7 separate regions of the Homo sapiens genome follow, and regions 2, 3, 4, 5, 6 and 7 are each linked to region 1. The links are contacts of gene promoters, found by promoter capture Hi-C in blood cells and fetal thymus (Javierre and others, 2016). All regions are on one chromosome and are shown on one strand. The core of a region is centred on a gene start or on the middle of the fragment in contact, and the rest is flanking DNA. Distances in the headings are between cores, read along the strand shown. Region 1 holds the start of LINC03033 (long intergenic non-protein coding RNA 3033). Region 2 overlaps PRKCH-AS1 (PRKCH antisense RNA 1). Region 3 overlaps SYT16 (synaptotagmin 16). Region 4 overlaps PRKCH (protein kinase C eta). Region 5 has its middle 11 kb from the start of SYT16. Region 6 overlaps SNAPC1 (small nuclear RNA activating complex polypeptide 1). Region 7 overlaps PRKCH (protein kinase C eta).

What was found. The method cuts DNA at HindIII sites, captures the fragments that hold promoters and counts their contacts. A CHiCAGO score of 5 or more calls a contact.
Region 2: a fragment that was not itself captured here is called in contact with the fragment with the promoter of LINC03033 in region 1 in 1 of 17 cell types (activated CD4 T cells); the score reaches 8.9 in activated CD4 T cells.
Region 3: a fragment that was not itself captured here is called in contact with the fragment with the promoter of LINC03033 in region 1 in 3 of 17 cell types (neutrophils, activated CD4 T cells and non-activated CD4 T cells); the score reaches 11.6 in neutrophils.
Region 4: a contact is called between a fragment that was not itself captured here and the fragment with the promoter of LINC03033 in region 1, in 1 of 17 cell types (activated CD4 T cells). The highest score is 8.1, in activated CD4 T cells.
Region 5: a fragment that was not itself captured here is called in contact with the fragment with the promoter of LINC03033 in region 1 in 9 of 17 cell types (neutrophils, activated CD4 T cells, non-activated CD4 T cells and 6 more); the score reaches 14.2 in neutrophils.
Region 6: a contact is called between a fragment that was not itself captured here and the fragment with the promoter of LINC03033 in region 1, in 10 of 17 cell types (neutrophils, activated CD4 T cells, total B cells and 7 more). The highest score is 17.9, in neutrophils.
Region 7: a fragment that was not itself captured here is called in contact with the fragment with the promoter of LINC03033 in region 1 in 1 of 17 cell types (activated CD4 T cells); the score reaches 6.6 in activated CD4 T cells.

What each region holds. Positions count from the first base shown.
Region 1 is chr14:61,568,989-61,572,103 of GRCh38, forward strand. LINC03033 (long intergenic non-protein coding RNA 3033) reads left to right here and starts at 1,552. Exons shown (of 3, transcript NR_039985.1): 1 at 1,552-1,772. LINC01303 (long intergenic non-protein coding RNA 1303) reads right to left here and starts at 1,665. Exons shown (of 5, transcript NR_110416.1): 1 at 1,498-1,665; 2 at 556-689. RefSeq lists an enhancer at 1-258 and a silencer at 650-842. The HindIII fragment of the contact is 753 bases long and covers 1,219-1,971 here.
Region 2 is chr14:61,318,759-61,321,873 of GRCh38, forward strand. The region is part of intron 1 of PRKCH-AS1 (PRKCH antisense RNA 1); the gene reads right to left. PRKCH (protein kinase C eta) reads left to right here and starts at 2,821. Exons shown (of 14, transcript NM_006255.5): 1 at 2,821-3,115. RefSeq lists silencers at 2,614-2,883, 3,034-3,115. The HindIII fragment of the contact is 823 bases long and covers 1,101-1,923 here.
Region 3 is chr14:61,817,280-61,820,394 of GRCh38, forward strand. The region is part of intron 1 of SYT16 (synaptotagmin 16); the gene reads left to right. Among named protein-coding and RNA genes, the nearest start is that of SYT16, 6.1 kb to the left of the region's middle. The HindIII fragment of the contact is 731 bases long and covers 1,072-1,802 here.
Region 4 is chr14:61,335,542-61,338,656 of GRCh38, forward strand. All of the region lies in intron 1 of PRKCH (protein kinase C eta), which reads left to right. Among named protein-coding and RNA genes, the nearest start is that of PRKCH-AS1, 14 kb to the left of the region's middle. The HindIII fragment of the contact is 4,334 bases long and covers 1-3,115 here.
Region 5 is chr14:61,800,313-61,803,427 of GRCh38, forward strand. No RefSeq gene overlaps it. Among named protein-coding and RNA genes, the nearest start is that of SYT16, 11 kb to the right of the region's middle. The HindIII fragment of the contact is 1,819 bases long and covers 764-2,582 here.
Region 6 is chr14:61,773,452-61,776,566 of GRCh38, forward strand. It overlaps SNAPC1 (small nuclear RNA activating complex polypeptide 1), which reads left to right. Exons shown (of 10, transcript NM_003082.4): 5 at 2,644-2,802. Among named protein-coding and RNA genes, the nearest start is that of SNAPC1, 13 kb to the left of the region's middle. The HindIII fragment of the contact is 1,248 bases long and covers 903-2,150 here.
Region 7 is chr14:61,369,448-61,372,562 of GRCh38, forward strand. The region is part of intron 1 of PRKCH (protein kinase C eta); the gene reads left to right. Among named protein-coding and RNA genes, the nearest start is that of PRKCH-AS1, 48 kb to the left of the region's middle. RefSeq lists an enhancer at 2,983-3,042. The HindIII fragment of the contact is 8,632 bases long and covers 1-3,115 here.

The DNA.
Region 1 (3,115 bases), core at 302-2,801:
CGCAAATGTCTTGCGCTTTCCAGGCAACTGCCAGATTGAAGGGGCTTTTCCCCAATGTAGACCTGTGCTCTGTGTGCTAGGAGGCCGAGGTTCCAGTCCAGGCTCGGCTTCTGACTCCCTACTTTAGGAGGAATCACTGAATTGACTGCAGCTCGGCTTCTGCTCTGTAAAATGGGGCTGTTGCTAGCTGAGCCTCTTCTGCCTCTGGTAGAAAATGATTCCAAGTGGCTGCCCTGTCCACCCTAATCCCATGGCCCGAACTTGATGTCTGCTGCTTCTAGAAGCCTAGTGCTCCAAATATCTGCTCTGGGAGGGACTTGCAGATGATCCTGATTGGAAATGAGGCTGATTAACCTTTTGTGTATCATTGACTCTAGGACAATCTGTTGAAACCTAGGGGCTCTTACCCTAGACAAATTAACACACCAGCCAGATACAGCTTACAAGGGCAGAGAGTTGCTGGTTTGAACCACAGACCCCTGGTTTAACATCTGTAATCTAGTCAACCCCTCCTCTTTCTTGAAGGCTGAACCAAACACGAAGGGTTTTCCCCACCTTCCAATCCTCATACATGCAGACACCCCCTTTTCCTGCTTTCTCCTTCAGTCATCTTCCTCACCATCCCCCATGCTTGGGCACTCTCAGGAGGGAAATTGTCCTATAAATATCTGTAAAAGGCATGGTATGTCCTGTAGCAGAGAAAGCAAAAAATAAAAATATAATTCCTCCACCCCTGGCATGGCACGTGCAGAGCTCTGCCTGATCCTTCTCTCCCACAAGCCTCGGGGGTGGGTAAACAAAAGTGAGAGGTGAAGCTGCTGCAGCGAAGTACCCCTTCAAAATCTTCAGTACCCTTCAGAGCCAGCGCTGTCATCACTATCACATAAACTGTACAACTCCAACGTCAACCAGCAGCCGCCTGGCTGGCAGCAGGAAGAGCCAATGCAATTTTGCACAGTGGCTTGCTTGCCCAAGGTATTGCCTGGCAAATGGGCTTCTTGTGCAATGGGGAACCACAGGGAGGGGCCTCTTAAATGTACCTCAAAGAAACAGCTCTAACAATGGATGATTCAACAGGCTAGTAATTGGCGCTCACTCTTACCACATTGTTTTGATAAAACGACATAGCCCAACTGGGGATATGAAGGCAGTAAGTAGAAAAGCTAACCTCTTGCTACTCAAATTGTGGCTGAGAACCAGCGACATCCCATCACCAGAAGCTTTATAGAAAAGCCAGGCTCTGTCCCAGACCTATTGAAAGGAGATCTGCATTTTAACATGATTGCGAGAGGATCCACATCTTAAAGTTTCAGAGGCCTAATCCAAAGTCTTCTGATAATGATCATTAGAGTCCCAGCCACCCCCGACTTCCCCCTGGGAAAACCACAACAAATAGAACAAATTCCTCCAAGCTCTGCTCATAAGAAGAACCCACAACCCACAGACACCCCCTCACTCAACTAGAGACCTCACCCACCTGTTTGCAGAGTCACCCACCTTGGGCTACTTCTTTTCTACTATTTAATCTTCTGGGAAAACAGAGGTCTTCTATTTGGAGATAAAAATGACAAAGGAGAACCTCCTGAACAGCATCCAGTTTGCTTTTAGCTTTAGCCATCTCTCTGACCTCAGTGCTGCTGGACTCAGTTCCAAGATCTAACTGTCAAATGCTTTAGGGGAAACGGGAAGAGAAGTCCCTGGAGTAACCCATGTGCGCAGCCTGGCACTGTTTTCACTTGCCTTTGGAAATGAAGGTGCAGAAACCATGGGAGGTAAGGAGGGCACAGACTAGTGACTTCCAGTGTGGGACAGAGGGGAAAAGATGGAAGAGAAGTGCAGAAAACCACTCGGGAAAAGACAGGCTGGAGTGATGCCTGCTGAGACAGGGCCCTGATCTCCCAGGACTTCCCTTTCTGCCTGTTCTGTAGAAATGTCTCGGGTTTTGTGGTTTAGGAAAAGAGATGCTTAGCAAGCTTGTAGAAAATGTAATGTGGGCACTTTGTTGCTGTCCTGGCTTTTAAAGGACTCTGAAGCAGATCAGCTTCAAGGTATTGGCTATTCTGTTTGCAGCCTTAGAAAGACATCCTTGATGTTTTATTGTTCTGCCTTTGCTAAGAGCTGGAAACTCTCCCTGGGGAAATGGCTCACCTTGAAAGAGATGCTATCGTAGCTGAAAATGTTTTAGCTTCACTTCCAATCTCTGGTTCCTTGTGGGAAGTAACTGCTGCTGTGGTATATATGCCCTGTGCCTTTTATTTTTACCATCTTTACCTCGGTGGACACAGCTGGTTGAAACTCAGTAAAACTTATGCTTCCATGGAGATTGATTCAGACAACAGGAAAAATAAGTGTAGAAAAAAACTGCACAGTACAAGGGCTAGATTCAGGTTGTAGAACAAAGTGATTATTACTTAGAATCCTGGATTAGCAAGAGAATAAGAAAGATGCTGAGATTACCTAGTGTTATCACCATCCACGTGAAACGTAGAATAAAACTTTTTCCCCACCACATAGATATTGGGCAGTTTATTATAGATGCTACAAAGGGATTTATTATATTTTTCCCAAAATGGTTAATTAGAGGCATCCCAAATTACAACTCCTTTAGCATAACTCCCAGCTCCATGCAGCCTACTTACTAAGGACCCAGCTACTGACAGCTCAGCTCTTTGCCAATCCAACTTTTTTTCCCCATATGCTCAAACTTTTCTTCTCCAAGAAGACTTCCTGAATGATCCCAATTCATAGGGATCTCATCCTTAATGCAGGGGAAATTCACTGTTCTGGAGTAGTCTACCATACCATCACGCTCTTCTTTTTGTGTAATCCTGGATTTCTTCTCCAGTTGTTTTATTCTTGCCTGTCTACACAGATAGATCAGTAGCCTTCAATAGTCTGCATCTCCTGTTATCTTGCAGCCTCCTACTATAAACAGTAGGTGCTTTACTTATGCCAGTTGGGTTGACCTAGACAGTAGTCTCTAAGTAGCAGTCCTTGGCTCATCCTTCTGAAACCAACGAGCTCTTAGGCAGGCTGAGAAAGGGTTAGGACTGTTCACTCTGGGACATCCTTGGCTCTGTATGAGTGTTGTTTTTAAAAGCAGGGATTTTGTCTC
Region 2 (3,115 bases), core at 262-2,761, 250 kb before region 1:
TCGTGCTGCTTCTTCCAATCCACCCCCGAGAGAGATATTTTATTTTACTAAAAAAATAAAATGGGACTACAGGCACATGCCACCACATCCAGCTAATTTTTTTAGTTTTTATTTTTTGTAGAGACAGTCTTGCCATGTTGCCAAGGCTGGTCTTGAACTCCTGGGCTCAAGCAGTACTCCTGCCTCAGCCTCCCAAAGTGTTGGGTTTATAGGTGTGAGCCACCTTGCCTGTCCCCAGAGAGGTATTTTAAAACACAAATCCTCATCTTACCCTGGCTCTGCTTAACAGCCTTCAGAGGCGTCCAGTGGCCCATAGATAATGTCCAAGGCTTTCCTGTGATCTACCAGTCTGGTCAGTGTGACCACCTTTGCAAGCTCATTTCAGCCACTCTCCCCTCACCTTCCTCAGCTCCAGCCACGCCTTCCTCAGCTCCAGCCACGTAGGGTGCTTTTGGTTCCCAAACAGGCCAACCCATCTGTCTCCTCAGGAGCTCTCAATGAGCTGATCTCTCTGCTATTTGCTTTTTCAAGGAACCCTTCCCTGACCACCCATCCAGTTATAATACATCACCCCTTGGCACCGTGGGCTTTTCCTTCACTGCACCCTCTTCTATTAGTTGTTTTTCCTCCTTGTGGGACTGTAAGCCCCAGGAGGGCAGGCACCATGGCTGTCTGACCCACTGCTCTGTCACCATTGCCAATCCTGATAGGTACTGATAGGGTGAAGATGGAGTGTCTGGTATCGTCATATCCCAGTCCCAGGACAGCTGTGTGGCCACCTACCATTTGGGGACTGTTTTCTTTTTAAAATTTAAAAAAAAATTTAAAGTCTACACCCCATGATTCTGTATGGGGACTGTTTTCTTTTAGCCCCAAAGTCCAACAGGAGCAAATCCTTTAGTGGCTCTTAAAGCTAGAGTTCAGCTGTTTGGAGGAAAGGGTGACAGAGCTGACCCACAGGGTAGATGCGACATCTTCCCCTGGAGCACTAAGGCCAAACAGGAGCCCCCTGGACGTTTGGGAGCAGGCTTTACAAGCCCTGCCTAAAGCTAAGATGTCATTAGAGTGATGCGTTGCATCCCTGCCTTGTTCTCTAAGGAAGCTTTGGTGTTTTCAAGACAGGCCCTTTCCCCCCTGGCCCATTGTCCTTACTTGTTTTCATTCTGTATAGTGCTGTTATTACGGGTCAGGCCTCCTTGCACTCATGTGAAATCGTTGAGAACCTACTCAATTAGAAAGTTCTGAACAGGGCCTTAGAGGAGTGGGGGCTAGAAAGATGAACCTGGGGCCAGGCACGGGGGCTCATGCCTGTAATCTTAACACTTTAGGAGGCAGGGGCTGGAAGATCACTTGAACCTGGGAGCTGGAGGTTATGGTAAGCCATGATCACACCGCTGTATTCCAGCCTGGATGACAAAGCAAAACCCAGTCTCTAAAACATAAAAGAAAGAAAGGAGGGAAGGAAGAAAGAAAGGAATGAAAGCAAGCCGAATCTGCTCCGAGGGAACCAGTATAGCAAGACAGAATGTAATCAAGTATCTTAAGAGTGGCCTAGGCTTGGCTGGGTGCTGTGGCTCACGCCTGTAATCTCAGCACTTTGGGAGGCCGAGGCAGGCGAATCACTTGAGGTCGGGAGTTTGAGACCAGCCTGACCAACATGGAGAAACCCTGTCTCTACTAAAAATACAAAATTAGCCGGGCGTGGTGGCGCATGCCTGTAATTCCAGCTACTCGGGAGGCTGGGGCAGGTGAATCGCTCGAACCTGGGAGGCGGAGGTTGCGGTGAGCCGAGATGGCGCCATTGCACTCCAGCCTGGGCAACAAAAGCGAAACTCCGTCTCAAAAACAACAACAACAACAACAACAAAAAGTGGCCTAGGCTTTTTGGGGAACAAATTGGTTGTGGCTGGCCCTCAGGGAGCAAGCTTTGCGGCATAGCAGCGTAGGCTAAAAGGTCCTCCCCGGAGACAAAATCTGCAGGGACCACGGGGTGGGAAGCATCAGAAGGCTGCCCACTCTGACTGCAAATACAACAAGCTGGAGTGTTCCTAGAAGAGGCAATTTCTTCCGCGTGTGTGTTGGGGACAGCCTGTGTGTGTGAACATTTTCTGCCCTTGCCGCGCAGAGCTGGGTGGACCAGAAACCACCCGCAGAGGAAGAGACTTATTACCTCTTGGCCATGTCTGTCTCCAGAAGAACCGACCTTTCCTGCTCTATGTGCAACAAGACACACCTTCCGAGGAAGGAGGCGAACAGGATTTCCATCATTACTACTGCCCTATTAAAACACACACATACACACAACTGTGTAATTAGCCTCTGCAGGAAAGGCGCACAAACAGGATGCGTTCGAGCTGACCCCGGGATGAGCCATCCCTGTAAATATTAGGAAAAAGAACCTCCCCGCCGTGCCCCCGCCTCCGGCCAGGGCCTCTTGGGGATGGCCCTGCAGGGTCACCAGCCCACCGGGGAGGTTGGGAGAGAGGGGGCGGGCGACTCCTCGCCGCGCGGGTTCCTGGCTGGAGCGCCCTCCTCTGCGTCCTCCCAACCTTCCATCGCTCCCCAGGTCAGTCTACCACGCCTCAGGTGTTTGCTCGGGCTGGGCCACGAACCCTTTCCTTTTTGGCCTGCGCCCGGGGTGGCCCCTAACCCGCAGCGCACGGCCAGACCCAGCGCTACAAGGAGGGCGCGCAGGGCGGCGCAAGCGGGCACTGGCCTCCCGGGGGCTTGCGCGGGGATCCACCCACCGCAGGGCCGGGCCGCGGACCGCGGGCCACGCCCCTGGGGTCCGGAAGGCGCGGGAGCGGACGCGGGGGTTCTGTGAACTTGGAACCTGGCGGTGCGAGGTTCTCGCCGGGGATGCGGCGGCGGCAGCTGCTTCCTGGTTTGAAGCTCGCCGAGTGGGGGAGAGCGTGAGCCTTCGGAGGCGGGGGCAGGAGGAGAAGCAAGAGGAGGCGGGGGAAGAGACGCTTGGGGCTGGGGCTCACCGGACGGGTAGGTCCGGCTCTCCAGGGAGAGGAGCTGCCCGGCCCTGGAGAAGGGGCGAGTCCTGCGCGAGTCCCCGGGAGGCGCCGCGCGCTTGGAAGGGACGGTCGGGCTTCCCCGGCCCGCTGAG
Region 3 (3,115 bases), core at 187-2,686, 250 kb after region 1:
TGGTGACAGGCGCCTGTAATCCCAGCTACTTGGGAGGCGGAGGCAGGAGAATCTCTTGAACCCAGAAGGTAGAGGTTGCAGTGAGCTGAGATCACGCCATTGCACTGCAGCCTGGGCAACAAGAGCAAAACTCCATCTCCAAAAAAAAAAAAAAAAAGAATAATGGGACAAACTGATATCCTGTACTTCCTGATAGGAAGCACCGGGAAGGACACAATGCCACTTACTGTGCCACAAATGTATAACCTGGTTCTGATCACGAGGAAACATCAGACAAAGGCAAATCAAGAGACATTCTGTAAGTCAGTGTCATGAAAGATGGCTGAGGCACTGTTCAGATTGAAGAAGACTAAAGAGACCACTAAATGCAATGGATGATTTCAGGTTATATCCTAGATGAGGGAAAAAATGCGACAAAGGACAGTGTTGTGATAATTGGTGAGATTTGAATATGGCTTGTATATTGGATAATAGCATTGTATCAGTGTTAAATTTCTTAAATTTGATATTTTTATTGTGGTTGACATGGGACATGATATCTGTACCTAAATGTCAAAGGCTTTAGGAAAAAAGGATATATGCATGTATGTGTGCATTTATATGTATATGTGTATCATATGAGAGAGAAAGCAAAGGTGGCCGAAGGTTAGCATTTGGTAAATTTAGGAGTTCCTTGTGCTGTTCTTGCAGCTTTTCTGCGAATTTGGGGGAGGGAGTTTATAAATGAAAGCACTGAGCTATTAATCTGTATTCTAGGCTTTATGGTCTAATACTATTGAGTTTACTTTTTGAAATAAATAACGTTGGACTCCTAATTCTGTTGTGAAGTGATAATGTTAACAAAACTTTTTATTAGGGAAAATTTCATATACACAAGAAGAGAGAATAGTATAGTGAACCCCCATGTATCCAGGTCACATAGCTTTAATGAGCGTTGGTATTTCACCAGGCTTGTTGCATCCATCTCCACCTCCACCCCCACTTTTCTGGGAGAGGCATTTTGAAGGCAAATCCAAGACATCATGATGCTTCACTGCCCCTCTGTGCATACTTCCCTCCTCATAATCCCCAAGCTTTTATCAGACTTCAGTAGCAATTCTGCAATAATAGATGACAGCAGCCAGGCGCGGTGGCTCACGCCTGTAATCCCAGCACTTTGGGAGGCCGAGGCGGGTGGATCATGAGGTCAGGAGTTTGAGACCAGCCTGATCAACATGGTGAAACCCCATCTCTACTAAAATTACAAAAATTAGCAGGGCGTGGTGGCACTCATCTGTAATCCCAGCTACTTGGGAGGCTGAGGCAGGAGAATCGCTTGAACCTGGGAGGCGGAGGTTGCAGTGAGCCGAGATTGCTTCACCGCACTCCAGCCTGGGAGACACAGTGAGACTCTGTCTCAAAAAAAAAAAAAAAAAACAGCATTTAGATATTATTAATGTTATAGAATAGCAGAGTTCTGAGGAATGTACTGATTTGACATATATGGGCTGTGCACTTGTTTTAAGTTTGAAAAGCTGACTAAGCCTGGGTAATTATAAACAGTGTAGAAGAAAAGGTCTGTGAACCTGCTTGTTCTTGTTTTGTTTGCTAAACTGCTCCTCCTGTTTTTAAACCAAGAATTAAATTCTAGAAGAAAACATAAATATGGTTATGGTGGCAATATTCTCAACTGATTTACCCAGTTGATGTTATCTTATTGAAACATTCTAAGAGTAAATCAGCATAAATAATTTCATACTGTTTGAATAGAATTCCTATGTTTTCATTTCACCATGGCATCTTTGAATTGGTAAACCCAGTAAAGCTTTTTCTTGACCAACCTGAGTTTCTAAATGAATCTAAAATTTGGTCTATATGTTTTATAAAAGAAATGGGACAGACATCTTGGGAGGAATAAACCTTCCCTTCTCCTGAGTATAGTAGATTTGGATGACATTTGTCCTTTTAGATCACTAGGGTATTATTTAGTCATTAACTATTATTTAGCATTATGAATGATAAGATGGCTATTATGCCATTTAACAATTGTCTGTATATTAAGATGATAATCAAACTCACTGACAGTGCTTTCTAGTAGATTGGAGAGGTATCTGAAGTGCATATTACAAAAAAAATTTTATGCACAGCTGTCATCCTTCCATTAAGGATTATACATATCTGATTTTAGGTAGTTTACATTTATGGATGGATATTACCCCTTTAGAATAAAATTTTCTTATTGTGAGAATATAATATTCTTCTGGCGTCTAATTTTAGGAATATAATAAGTCACATTCTATAATTTTACTCACAATGGAGCAAAGATTAAGAGACATAAAATGATTTTACCCACCCTGCATGAAAATGCCCCTGGTTTATATACTTAATTCAAAAGAGCACCATACAGATAACCTACCAATTACAAGGAGGTTTTCAATTGGCTTAGCTCAATAGAAATTGCAAAAGATTGAAGAACTGAGTGTGGTATGGTGGAAGAGAGCACAGGCCTGGTTCCAGAGGTGCCTGAGTCGTGAACTCTGGTCCTGCCACTCAAAGGCTGGGTAAGAGGTAAATTGTTTAACTTCCCGGAGGCTTTGTCTTATTCCACTCTGAGGAATTACAAGGAGTAAAAGAGATGGAACAGAGTTGCTGGCACAACATATGCATTAATAAATGTCTGTCCCTTTACCTGCTACAAGATCCTTCCAATGGCGTGTACCTCCCCATAGGGTGTACCTCATATTATGAGAACAATCTGACTCAGAAACAGGGTGCCTAGTCATTGATTCCATTTTTTGTGTGTGAGGAATATAAAATTAAGAACAAATGATCTGTGTACAAATGTAAGACTAGGGAAGAGAATCTAGGACAAGCACCCAAAGGTGCAGAACTCAGATTTTAAATAGAAGTAATAATCATGTTTTCTTCCCCAATGTTTATTGTTTTGTGCAAGTGTACTTGTACCATGAGCATGTGGATTTGTGAAATGTGCACACACACAACTTGTAGAAACCTTGGGAGAATTCACTGATGGGCTGTGAAAAGGGCTACAACAGCTACCTCTTTGATTTAAGAGGCAAGAGGGTTTTGAGCACTTCTCCGCTGATGTGCATTTGGCGATCTCTCTGGGCTTCGT
Region 4 (3,115 bases), core at 446-2,945, 230 kb before region 1:
TAAAACCTCAGCCATTGTAAAAAATAAAAATAAAAAAAACCACAACCCCCCCATCTGCCAAAACTAGATATAATTGATTCTTGCTTAATTCTGAAAGCTCATTTACTTTTTGGATTATAATTTTGTGAACTAACTCTGGATAATTTTGCCTATTTTGAATAGTTTTAGATAATGCCTATTTTGGCATCTCCCTGAATATTTCTGACCATCCCTTCAACATTTATTTGGTCTGTTTAAAGAAGACACATTAACATTTGCCTAAGTCACATGAATTAGGATGCAGAATCTATAATTATGGACTAATGATACACAAATACAGGCTTTGAGGAGTATTTATTGGACAACTACCATAATTATCAGTGCATCATAGTGTGATGGTTGGGTGTCAGCCAGATTGGGGTTCAGCTATTCATTCTGCCTCTCATTAGCAGGGATAATTTAACCCCTGCAAGCCTGTTCTCTCATCCACAACACAGTACCTGCCTCACAGGGTTACTTCAGAACACAGTGAGGACTTATGTAAACCATCTACACAGGGCATGACATATACTACCGCAGAAAAATGATTGTTGATGTCACTTTCATTACCACCACTCTACCCTCAGCACTTCAATATGAAGTGATGGGCCCAGCCCTTTTCTGAAGTTAACTTTGAAAGCAGTAAGATATTTATTTACATAGAATTCAAGAGAAGGGATTTTTGAGTACAACTTCCTCACTGGTTTTGCTTTTAATGTAGGATTCTGGAATGTAAATCAGTAGGAGATTTCTAGTTACTGGTGGAAGAGAAGATGGCTTCCTTATCCCGGAATCACAGGGATTGGGGGTAAATTCTGTACATAGGTCCTCTCTGGAAGTTCTTGTAAGGAATATGGGAAAATGAAGCTGGAATTATTATAGTTACAATGTTGGCTAAAGTTGGTTCATGGAAACCTTGAAATTAAGTTTGTTGGTTTGCTTATTCAATATTGGACAGCAGAGGGTCTGAGTTAGTGAGAACCAACAAACCAGAAATAAATCAAGTTGCAATATTTAGCTGCAAAGGACAGAAAGAGGCCTTTGAAAAGCTGAAGTGAGTACTTTTATTGCTGTAATTAAGGGAAATAATGGTAAACAGGCTCTTTCAATTGGCATTAAAATATATTTTCCTTGGTTAGTTTGAATATCCAATACAAGTTGGTGGATGTGAATTGTTCTGTCATGCTTTCAAGGAGGAAAACTCTAGTTTTAAAAGTACGTCATTAGGGCCAGGTGTGGTGGCTCATGCCTGTAATTCCAGCACTATGGGGGGCTGAGGTGGGCAGATTGCTTGAGGTCTGGAGTTCGAGACCAACCTAGCCAGCATGGTGAAACTCTGTCTCTACTAAAAATACAAAAATTAGCTGGGCTTGGTGGTACGCACCTGTAATTCCAGCTACTTGGGAGGCTGAGGCATGAGAATTGCTTGAACCCAGGAGGCGAGGTGGAGGTTGCAGTGAGTCGAGATTGTGGACTCCAGCCTGGGTTACGAAGTGACAGTCTGTCTCAAAAAAAAAAAAAAAAAAAAAAAAGTACATCGTTTGAATATGGATTTATAGATGTATTCAAGGACACCAACAATTTTTTTTTTTTTTTTTTTTTGAGACAGGGTCTCACTGTGTCCCCCAGGCTGGAATGTAGTGGTGTGAACATGACTCACTGCAGTCTCAACCTCCTGGGCTCAAGTGATCCTCCTGCCTCAGTCTTCTGAGTAACTGGGACCATAGGCGTGCGCCACCAAGCTCAGCTAATTTTTTAATGTAGAGACAGGGTCTTGCCATGTTGCTTAGGCTGAACATTTGATTTGGCTTGCAGAAAATATGAAGTACTTTTTTTCCTATGTGGACTCAATTAAACAAAAAATTTTATTTTACAGAGATAGGATCTTACTCTGTTGCCCAGTCTGGAGTGCAGTGGTACATACAATCTTAACTCACTGTAACCTTGACCTCCTGGGCTCAACTGATCCTCTTGCCTCAGCCACCTGAGTAGCTGGGACTACAGTCGTGCACCACCGTGGTTGGCTAATTAGAAAACCTTTTTTCTTATAGAGGTAGGGTCTCACTATGTTGCCCAGGCTGCTCTCTAATTCCTGACTTCGAGTGATGCCACCCTTCATGGCCTCCCAAAGTGCTGGGATTACAGGCATGAGCCACCATGCCCCACCTGGGGACTCATTTGAAGGTGATCATTTCTACTTTTATTTGTTTACTGGACACTTGTTCTGGGACCTAGATCTTTCACAGTTGATTTTAAGTGAAAGGTTTCTGAACTGTATATATACAATATTTCAGAACAGTAATTTCCTTTGCTTCATAGTACGGCACAACAGTGTTTGCACTTGATGTTTAGCGTAGCCTTGGTTTTGGTTGTTCAGAAGCCTTTGTTAGCTCTTTGGTTGTGCCAAGAATATATTGTTTTTGAGTCTCCTTGCCGGGCCTCCTCGCCTTCTTGTCATGCACATCCTGTACCTGGGTTGTGGTTGTATTGATTTGCTGGGGCGCTGCTGTTGCAAATGTCTGGAGTGAATGAGAATGTGTTTGTGGGTGTCTGCCCTCACCTTGGCCACTGATCTGCTTTCAGCCCTGAAGTACTGCCATCTGCATGAACATTAGGGACCCCCAGCCTCCCCCACCACTTAGTAAAGTACCCTGCACATGTTTGGGATTCAGGAAATGTTTGTAGAAAGGAAAAATTCCTTATCATTCCTTACCATTCTCTGTCTTGAGTCTGAGTCATGATTCAAACACTTTTGCTAAAAGGTTTTCGCTTGAAAAATTCATATTCAGGTACAGATTTACTTTTTTTTGGTGTGTGTGAGTTTAAGAGCTGCCTCAGGAGTAGTTTAGAGAGAATGAATATACCAGTATGGTTTTTATTCCCTTGATTACTTAAATAAGTATTAAAGGTGTGTGAAAAGATTAGCTGAATCCTAGGTTCCTCAAACAAAATGTTAACTTTTGTTTGGGTGGTAAGAGATGGATTTCAAAATGGGAAAAAGCGAGACTGAAACCATCATCCAGCACACACTATGTCAGGAATGTATTAATGACAGCCTGCGCTTGATAAGAACAGGACACCAACAGGGGGCATAAAC
Region 5 (3,115 bases), core at 423-2,922, 230 kb after region 1:
CATTCTATTCATGGATTTGATGGAAATGATAATGATGGCAAACACAGTCGTAAATATTTTAACTTCATAATGTAAACAAGTAATGGCAAAAATGTTCACTTGGCTGGACATGGTGGCTAATGCCTGTAATCCCAGCACTTTGGGAGTCTGAGGCAGGTGGATCACCTGAGGTCCGGAGTTCAAGACCAGCCTGGCCAACATGGTGAAACCCTATCTGTACTAAAAACACAAAAATTAGCCGTGTGTGATGGCACGTGCATGTAGTCCCAGCTACTTGGGAGGCTGAAGTGGGAGAATCACTTGAACCAGGAGGTGGAGGCTGCAGTGAGCCAAGATTGCACCACTGCACTCCAGCCTGGGGGACAGAGTGAGACTTTATCTCAAAAAAAAAAAGAGAAAAGAAAAAAAAAAGTTCAGTTGATGCAGCATTGCACAGTGGAAGAGTATCAGACAGCGTGGATTTGCTCTGAGATTACAATCTGCATATGAGACGTAATAAAATCTACCTGTAAGTTAGGGATGGATATATCCCATTTTATCCTCTTCCATCCTTTGAGATATTGTCATCATATTTTACTGCTATGATATAAACCCCATCATACAGTTATATTCTTACTTTAAATAAAGGAAAAAATAGGAGAAAAAGCTGTTACATTTACCCACATGGGAACCTTATCCACTGCTCTTCATTCCTTCATGCAAATCTATGCTTTCACCTGGGACAATTTTCCCTCAGCCTGGAGACATTCTTTTAATTTATTGAAGCTTAGTTCTGTTGGAGATCAATTCTATCAGATTTTGTTTTTCTGAGTCTTTATTTAACCATTTTTGAAGGATATTTTTCCTGGATTTGAATTCTAGGTAGACACCTCTTTTCTTTCATCACGTTAAGGATTGTTGCATGTCTTCAGCCTTCATTGTTTCTGATGAGAAGTTTTCATTCTTACCCATTTTTTGGTATATAACACGCCCTTTTTCTCTGGCCACTTTTAAGTTTTTTTTTTTTTTTTTTTTTACTTTATTTTCAGCCATTTGCATGATGTGCCTAGTGCAGTTAATTTTTCCAGTATATTGTATATGTTTTTCTGTACTGGTCTCACTTGCTTCTCTTTCTAGGACTCCAATTACATGTCTGTTAACTGCTTAATACTGTCCCAAATGTTATTGTGGCTTCCTCCCACACCCCCAGTAATTTTTCTCTCCGTGCTTCAGATTGAATGATTTGACTTGTCTTCAAGTTCATGAATTATTTCTTCTTTTGTATTCAATCTGCTGTTAATCCCATTCAATAACTTTAATTTTAGATGTAGTATTTTTCAGTTCTAACATTTCTCCTTGGTTCTTCTTCATGGTTTTCATATCTGCACTGAAATGTCCCATTTCTTCACCAATTATAACATTTTTTGCTGTAGGTTTATACTATTTTATAGATACTATAAATTTATACTGTAGGTGCTATAAGTTTAGCAAATTTAGCTACCTTGAAGTGTTTGCTAGTTTCAACATTGGGGGCATCAGTATGTCTGTTTCCCCCAAAGAGTATATCTGTTTTTATTGACCGATTTATTTTTTTATTGACTGTGGTTTACATTTTCATGTTTCTTTCCCTGTCTACTAATATTTTATTGTATGATAATACATGTTAGGGACTCTGAATTCTATCACCTTCCTCTAAAGAGTGTTGAGTTTTGTTCTATAAGGCAGTTAAGTTATGACAGAGCATCTTATACTTAAAGGGGCTTGATTGTAGGCTTTGTCAGGGTGGATCTATTCAGCTTGATCCTTAGTTTTAGGGCAAATCCCTTAGTCCTGGAAGTGGTCCCTAAATCTAAGGTGTGGGCTTTTTGAAGTTTAATGGAAACCGTGAAGTGTTTGCCACATCACTCTATTCTTGCAAGACTTGAACTTTGAACTCAGGAGACCTTTGGGTGGTCAGCTGCTGAAATACCCACTCGGGACTTTCAGATTTCTAGCTCTTTGCCCTAGAATCATGGGGGTTTTTGCCTTGCTTGCAGCCAAAGATCTGAGGGGATTTTATACACAGATTTTGGAGTTTCTATGATTGCTCCTTTTAGGGATTTCCCATCTTGACTTCTAACCACTCTGACAGCCCAAACTCCATTCTCTGACTCCTCAGATAGGTAAGACTATGACATTCTGCCTGAGTCCTACCTGCCCAGTGCCATGGACAGGGGAGTGCACTCAGGTAAAGTTGTATAAACATGCATATCTCCTTTACAGCATTGAATCCCTTACAGTTGCTATCACGGAAAGTAATCATTAGGTGACATCCCCCTATTTACCCTGAAGTTACTGAACCATCTTCCCTGGATTTGTGCAGGGTGTCTCCTAATTTACGAAGATTCCAATTAGATTGGGAGTATGACTTAACTCATTTAAGTCACCCAAATGCTATTTGATCATAATTTAGTGTCTTGTTAACCTAATGGCTTGAAATAAATTGACGCACTTCTGAAAATAGGGTAAAAATCCCTGATTTTTCAAGGAGGCTAATCTTCCGTAAATGCTAAGCACTATAGAATCAATTATGTTATTAATTTGCTCTTGGTTGCAAGCTACAAAGCTTGATCAGGCTAATTACAGATTATGCTCTGAGGAAAATATTTTTATATGCACTATTTTTTTCTTGCAGGCACTTTAATATGAGGTTTTAAAAAACCTTACTTAAGACAAATAAAAAAGAAAACCTTCATGTAATTACTTTACCTGCAGGCTAATTTTTAAATACTTCAACACCGTAACAATTAAATGGGCTATGTTAGCTTCAGTTGACAACATTTATTTATTTATTTATTTGCAATGAGACCTCATAATATCCACCAGGCTGGTCTCGAACTCCTGGGCTCAAGAGATCCTCTTGTCTTAGCCTCCCAAATAGCTGGGCCTACAGGTGCCAGCCATTCTGCCTAGCTAGTTGATCACTTTTAGGGAAGGCAACACCCACAAGATTTGTTGGACCTGAACTTCTTATGGTGTGTCTGATTTTAAATGAAATGAATTTTGCTAAAGTCTCACAAATGGTTAACTCTTCTGCCTTTATTACATGTTTTAAATAGTTGATTTATCTCTTAGTTTCTTGCAGCATAATTGGTAT
Region 6 (3,115 bases), core at 277-2,776, 200 kb after region 1:
GAGTGCGATCTTGGCTCACTGCAAGCTCTGCTTCCTGGGTTCATGCCATTCTCCTGCCTCGGCCTGCTGAGTAGATGGGACCACAGGCGCCTGCCACCATGCCCAGCTAATTTTTTGTATTTTTTTAGTAGAGACAAGGTTTCACCGTGTTAGTCAGGATGGTCTTGATCTCCTGACCTCATGATCCGCCCGCCTCGGCCTCCCAAAGTGCTGGGATTGCAGGCGCGGGCCACCATGCCTGGCCTTTTTTTTTTTTTTATTTTTTAAGGCAGAGTTTCCCTTTTATTGCCCAGGCTGGAATGCAGTGGCACGATCTCGGCTCACTGCAGCCTCCACCTCCCCACCTCCCAGGTTCAAGCGATTCTCCTTCCTCCGCCTCCCGAGTAGCTCGGACAACAGGCACCCGCCACCATGCCTGGCTAATTTTTTGTATTTTTAGTAGAAATGGGGTTTCACCATGTTGGCCAGGGTGGTCTCGAACTCCTGACCTCAGGTGATCCGCCTACCTCGGCCTTCCAAAGTGCTGGGATTACAGGCATGAGCCATCGTGCACGGCCCCCAGTTTTAAAAATAAGGAAACTGAGGTTTAGAGAAGTTAAGTAGTTTGTATAAGGTGAGGCACAATAAGGTACAGACACTATGTTTGAATGTCCAAGTCTATAAGGCTCCAAAGTCCATGCACTGTCTTTTATTTCTTATTTAATTTTCTTCTTCTTTTTTTTTTTTTTTTTTAAAGGTGGGGGTCTTGCTGTGTTGCCTGAGTTGGCCTTGAATTCCTGGGCTCAAGCCATCCTCATGCCTCAGGCTTCTGAGTAGCTGGGACTACAGGTGCACACTACTGTGCCTGGCTTCTTTAATCTTCTATAGTGCTTTACATTCTACTGAATACTTTCACCTGTATAAGCTTGTTTAATACTTAACAATGGTGGGTTTGTTCATTTTGTACAAATGCGAAACATGAACATGATTCTTAGGTTGAGGGACTTCCCCATTGTCATCCATTGAGCAAATGACAGAGCTCAGACTCAAAAATTAGATCTGACTGGTGGTCTTTCTCTATCACATGAAGTAAAAATAATGAGAGTATAGCCAATGTAAACTGTAAAGAGTTAGGGGCTCTCCATGTCTGGACACTGTTCTCCCATTGCAGATCCTGCATATATGAGCACTCACTCACCACTATTGATCAGTTTCTCATTTTTTTTTTTTTTTTTTTTTTTTTTTTTTGAGAGGCAGAGTTTCACTCTTGTTGCGCAGGCTGGAGTGCAATGGTGCGATCCTGGCTTACCGCAACCTCTGCCTCCCAGGTTCCAGTGATTCTCCTGCCTCAGCCTCCCGAGTAGCTGGGATTACAAGCATGTGCCACCACACCCGGCTAACTTTGTATTTTTAGTAGAGACGGGGTTTCTCCATGTTGGTCTGGCTGGTCTCGAACTCCAGACCTCAGGTGATCTGCCCACCTTGGCCTCCAAGAGTGCTGGGATTACAGGAGTCAGCCACTGTGCCTGGCCTAGTTTCTCATTTCTTGAACAGGTGTTGATTCTACCAAAATCTGGAAATGAATTGAGTGGTCTGAGTTAGGGATGACTCAGATGTTGCAATGTCCATCTGTGATGGAAGTGTCAGTAGTTCTCTCTTGATCTTAGAGCCAAGTCCCTATGCCAGGTTTTCTTAAGTCCACTCTGTGGTATGCTGTCTTTTTCCTTACCCCACAGATCTGCCCATTTGGCTGGAGATTTTTGGAGGAAGAAGATCTAATAAATAATGCCACAAATGGTGTCATAAATCACCCTCTATTTCTTTCTTTTTTTTTTTTCTTGAGATGGAGTCTTGCTCTGTTACCCCTGCTGGAGTGCGGTGGTGGTTCAATCTTGGCTCACTGCAACCTCCGCCTCCCGGGTTCAAGCAATTCTCCTACCTCAGCCTCCCAGGTAGCTGGGATTACAGGCGCCCACCCCCATACCCGGCTAATTTTTGTATTTTTAGTAGAGACGGGGTTTCACCATGTTGGCCAGTCTGGTCTTGAACTCCTGATCTGGTGATTCTCCCACCTTGGCCTCCCAAAGTGCTGGGATTATAGGTGTGAGCCACCACACCTGGCCTACCCTCTATATCTTTAATCCTGAATGTTATCGCTGAAGCAATGGGGAAGCTTATGGGAACAGGCACATACGTTTTGGGATTTCTGTGGCAGGTTGGATGAGAGTCGTTACATAGGAATTTCCAGCAGAGCATAAAGGACTATGTAAATATTCTTGATGTGACAATATGATATAAAAATATCTTAGTTATCAGTAGTGATATTTAATGATATGTCATGCTACAAATAATTGTGATATTCTAGAATGGAATTTTATGTTAACTGATTTGTCTTTCCCCAATGTCTTCCCCATAAGTGTATCTTATATCTTAGTTAATGTTTGTTGAGGTAAGTCAGTAAATCCATACCTCTGGAATCCACACCTCTATGTTAATGAAGTTGTACTATTTTGCTTACATGATTATGTTATTTTTAATATACTATAGCATGTTATTACCTATCAACTGGAAGTCACTTTGGAAGGTGACTATTTTGTGTTGGTTTTGCCTTTTAGTTTCTCCTCAAAAAGTGAAGAAATAAAGGACTCATCTTTTTGCTTTTAGGAAATGCTGAATGTTCATGATCATTATCAGAACATGAAACATGTAATTTCAGTTGATAAGTCCAAGCCAGATAAAGCCCTCAGCTTGATAAAGGATGATTTTTTTGACAATATTAAGAACATAGTTTTGGAGCATCAGCAGTGGCACAAAGACAGAAAGGTATGCAATCACTTGTTTGGTGCCTCACCATTGTATTTTACACGAATGTTTATCCGTGGATGATAATGTTGGGAGGCAGCCTAGTTTTAGAGGCTGTAATCCTGTGGAGCTAAGATTTATAGGGCTTGGCTTTTCTAGTTCCACTTTTGCCACTTATTAGGTATGTGATGTTATTTAACCTGATAAATGGAGTATATATGTATTTTCTTTTTTTTTTGGTAGAAGAGTAAATAATCTTGTTATACCTCAGATTTATTACAGACTTTATAATTTGGCATTTTTTAGGGGTTGCACACTCAGTCTTTGGGCTAAA
Region 7 (3,115 bases), core at 303-2,802, 200 kb before region 1:
TTTCTTTTTGTTTGCTTTGCTTCGCGTCAGAAATTCAGATTCAAATTTGTAGCTCAACTTTAAGAAAATTTTAACAGTTACATCTTAACTTTTCCCAGCCTTGATTTCCTATTTCATTTTCCCCATTCTGATTTTACATGTTTACACAATATAAGTTCCTGTATACTGACTGTTTTGTGGAATGTAGTATATATTGAGAAATATGATTGCAGTCAGTGTTCTTTTCTTGGACATTTGTCTTTCGAATCAACTCTAAAGTATTACATGTTTTGACTGTTTAATGCATTAGTTATGGGAGTAGATTCCCCAGAAGAATTATATTATTAATAGCAACTAACCAAAGGATTGGAAAGAAAAAATTGGGAAGAAAGTGACAGAAAGTTCTTGGTAAAAAACAGAACTTTATTTTTAAACTATTGATGCATAGATAGTATCTACAAGCAGTAATACATATGCATATATCTGTATGTTTATATGTGTATATATATGTGTGTATGTATGGTTTTTTATTTTTATTTTTATTTCTTTTTGAGACAGAGTCTTGCTCTGTCACCCAGGTTGGAGTGCAGTGGCGTGATCTCCGCCTCCCAGGTTCAAGCGATTCTCCTGTCTCAGCCTCCCAAGTAATTGGGATTACAGGCGCCCATCACCACACCTGGCTAATTTTTGTATTTTTAGTAGAGACAAGGTTTCACCATGTTGCTCAGGCTGCCTCGAACTCCTGACCTCAAGTGATCCGCCTGCCTCGGCCTCCCAAAGCGTTGGGATTACAGGCGTGAGCCACCGCACCCGGCCATGTGTGTTCTTTTAAAAACTGAGAACCCTAATACATAAACAATATACTTTCTTTGGTTGTTGGAGAAAAAGCGAAGGGATGAGGTGGTGATGAGAACAGTGAAGGCAAACTACAGTGGTTGCCCAACTTTACTGGAGTCACCTGGAGTTTGTTAAGTGCGATGCCAGTTTGCTAGGCCTGGGGGTGGGGCCTGCATTTGTAATAAGTGTATCAGGAAATTCTGACCCACGAGAGGTGGGAGAGGTTTAGCACTGGGTAGAAAAATGAAAGGCCCAATCTGTATTAAACCTGCTCCAAATCTTTGTATCCATTTTTGGATGAGGAGTTCCTGTTCAGATTTTCTGCAACTTTTCCTGAAATCAGAGTGTAATGGGCACAATATCATTCATATTAGTCAGTCTTAGCTCCAGAAAGTACTCATTATGTTAGATGTTCATTGGAAGTAGTTTGTAGCTGATTTTTTTCTCTTTCTTCGCTCTCTGTATTTCTGTCTTCTACTTCTGTTTTTAGTTGAAGAGAAGATACTTTACCAACAGCTTGTCTGAAAACAATTTGCAGATAGGAGTACTCATAGAAAACTCTTGGGGTTCTCACTGTGGGTCTTCTCCAGGGGTGTGGATAACACCAAACACTGCAGTATGGAAACTAGCGCAAAATGGGATGTGCTGTGACACTGGCCAGCTGGAGACAGTTGGGACAGGGGATGACTTAACGTTAACATGGGAATGTTACATACACAGTCTAGAAAGGCCAGATATTCTTTTGCACTGCTGCCTCTGGCTCTCTTTTCATCTATTTAGTGAATAACCAAATTTATCACCTGTAGTAATCAGTTACTAATTTAGAATTTAATTTCTTTAAGAGTTACCTGGATTTAGGGCTCAGTGAAGGCAGTTTTTATTTAAAAGCATTTTCTTGAATAAACATTTTAGAACAGTTTTAGTATTACAGAGAAACTGTGAAGATAGTGCAGAGAATTCCCATATACCCAACAGTCAGTTTTCTGTATTATTAATGTCTTAGGTTAGTATGCTACATTGTCACAGCTAATGAATCAATAATGATACATTATTACTAATTAAACTTCATAGTTTATCAGATTTCCTTAGATTTTACCTACTGTTCCATTTCTGTGTTAGGATCCCATTCAAGATACCACATCATGTTTATATGTCTGCTTAGGTTCTTCTAGTCTGTGACAGTTTCTCAGACTTTCCTTGGTTTTGGTGAGCTTGACAGCTTGACAAGTCCTCGTCAGGTATTTTATAGAATGTCCTTCAAATTGGGTTTGTCTAATGTTTTTCCTGTGGTTCAAGGGTTTTGGGAGGAAGACCACACAGGCAGGCATAGTACCACATTTCATTCCATCATGTCATATCAATTGCATAATTAGCTTTTACATGCATACATGCTATCAAAACGACCTATCACTGTTGATGTGAACCTTGATTGCATGGCTAAAATTATGTTTGTCAGATTTCTCACATAAAGTTCCTCTTCCCCTTCTTTCCATACTGTACTCTTGGGAAGGAAGTCACTGTACATAGCTCACACTTTAGTTGTGGAGAATTATGCTCTACCTCCCTGAGGGAGGTAGTATTTAGAGAAATTATTGGGAATTCCTCTGCTTGGGAGATTTGTCTATTCTCCCCCATTTATTTATTCTATCATTTATTTGTATCAGTATGGACTCATGCATATTTTATATTTTAGGTTATAATCTAATATCACATGATTGTGCTCCTCAAATTGTTTCAGATTTGGTTTTTGGGAGCTGTTTCAATAGGCTCCTGTGTCCCTTTGTGACATGCCACCCATCCTGGTGGGTTTTTGTTGTTGCATGTGTGCTTTTTAAAATCACATCCTTATTCTTTCTGGCACTAAAAGATGCCCCTGGCTCACTTTGTATATTCTTTGCCCCATCCCTAGAATCAGTTATTTCTCCAGGGACCCTGGTTCCTTTTGTTGGAGAATGGTTTTAGAAACCAAGTTCTGGGCACTGCGTGTCCTTGTTGCTACTGAGGTGTCATTGCTTTTAGGTCTGTTCAGCTGACGGAACAGAGAAATAGGTGTATACTCACCCTTGTATATACACATATCTGTAAATATTTCTATATGTATCCATCTGTATCTATATTAAGTTGAACATGAGTTCATGCTAATGTTTTCAACTCCGATACAGTGTTACAGACCTTTTTTTACTAGCCTTTCTCCCTTGTCTGCAAACTCCTGCTCTAACAGTGAAAAACTGGTTCCTACCACCCACCATCCATTTACTTACATGTATAGTGGTTTCAGAATTGTTAACTTGTATCCCTT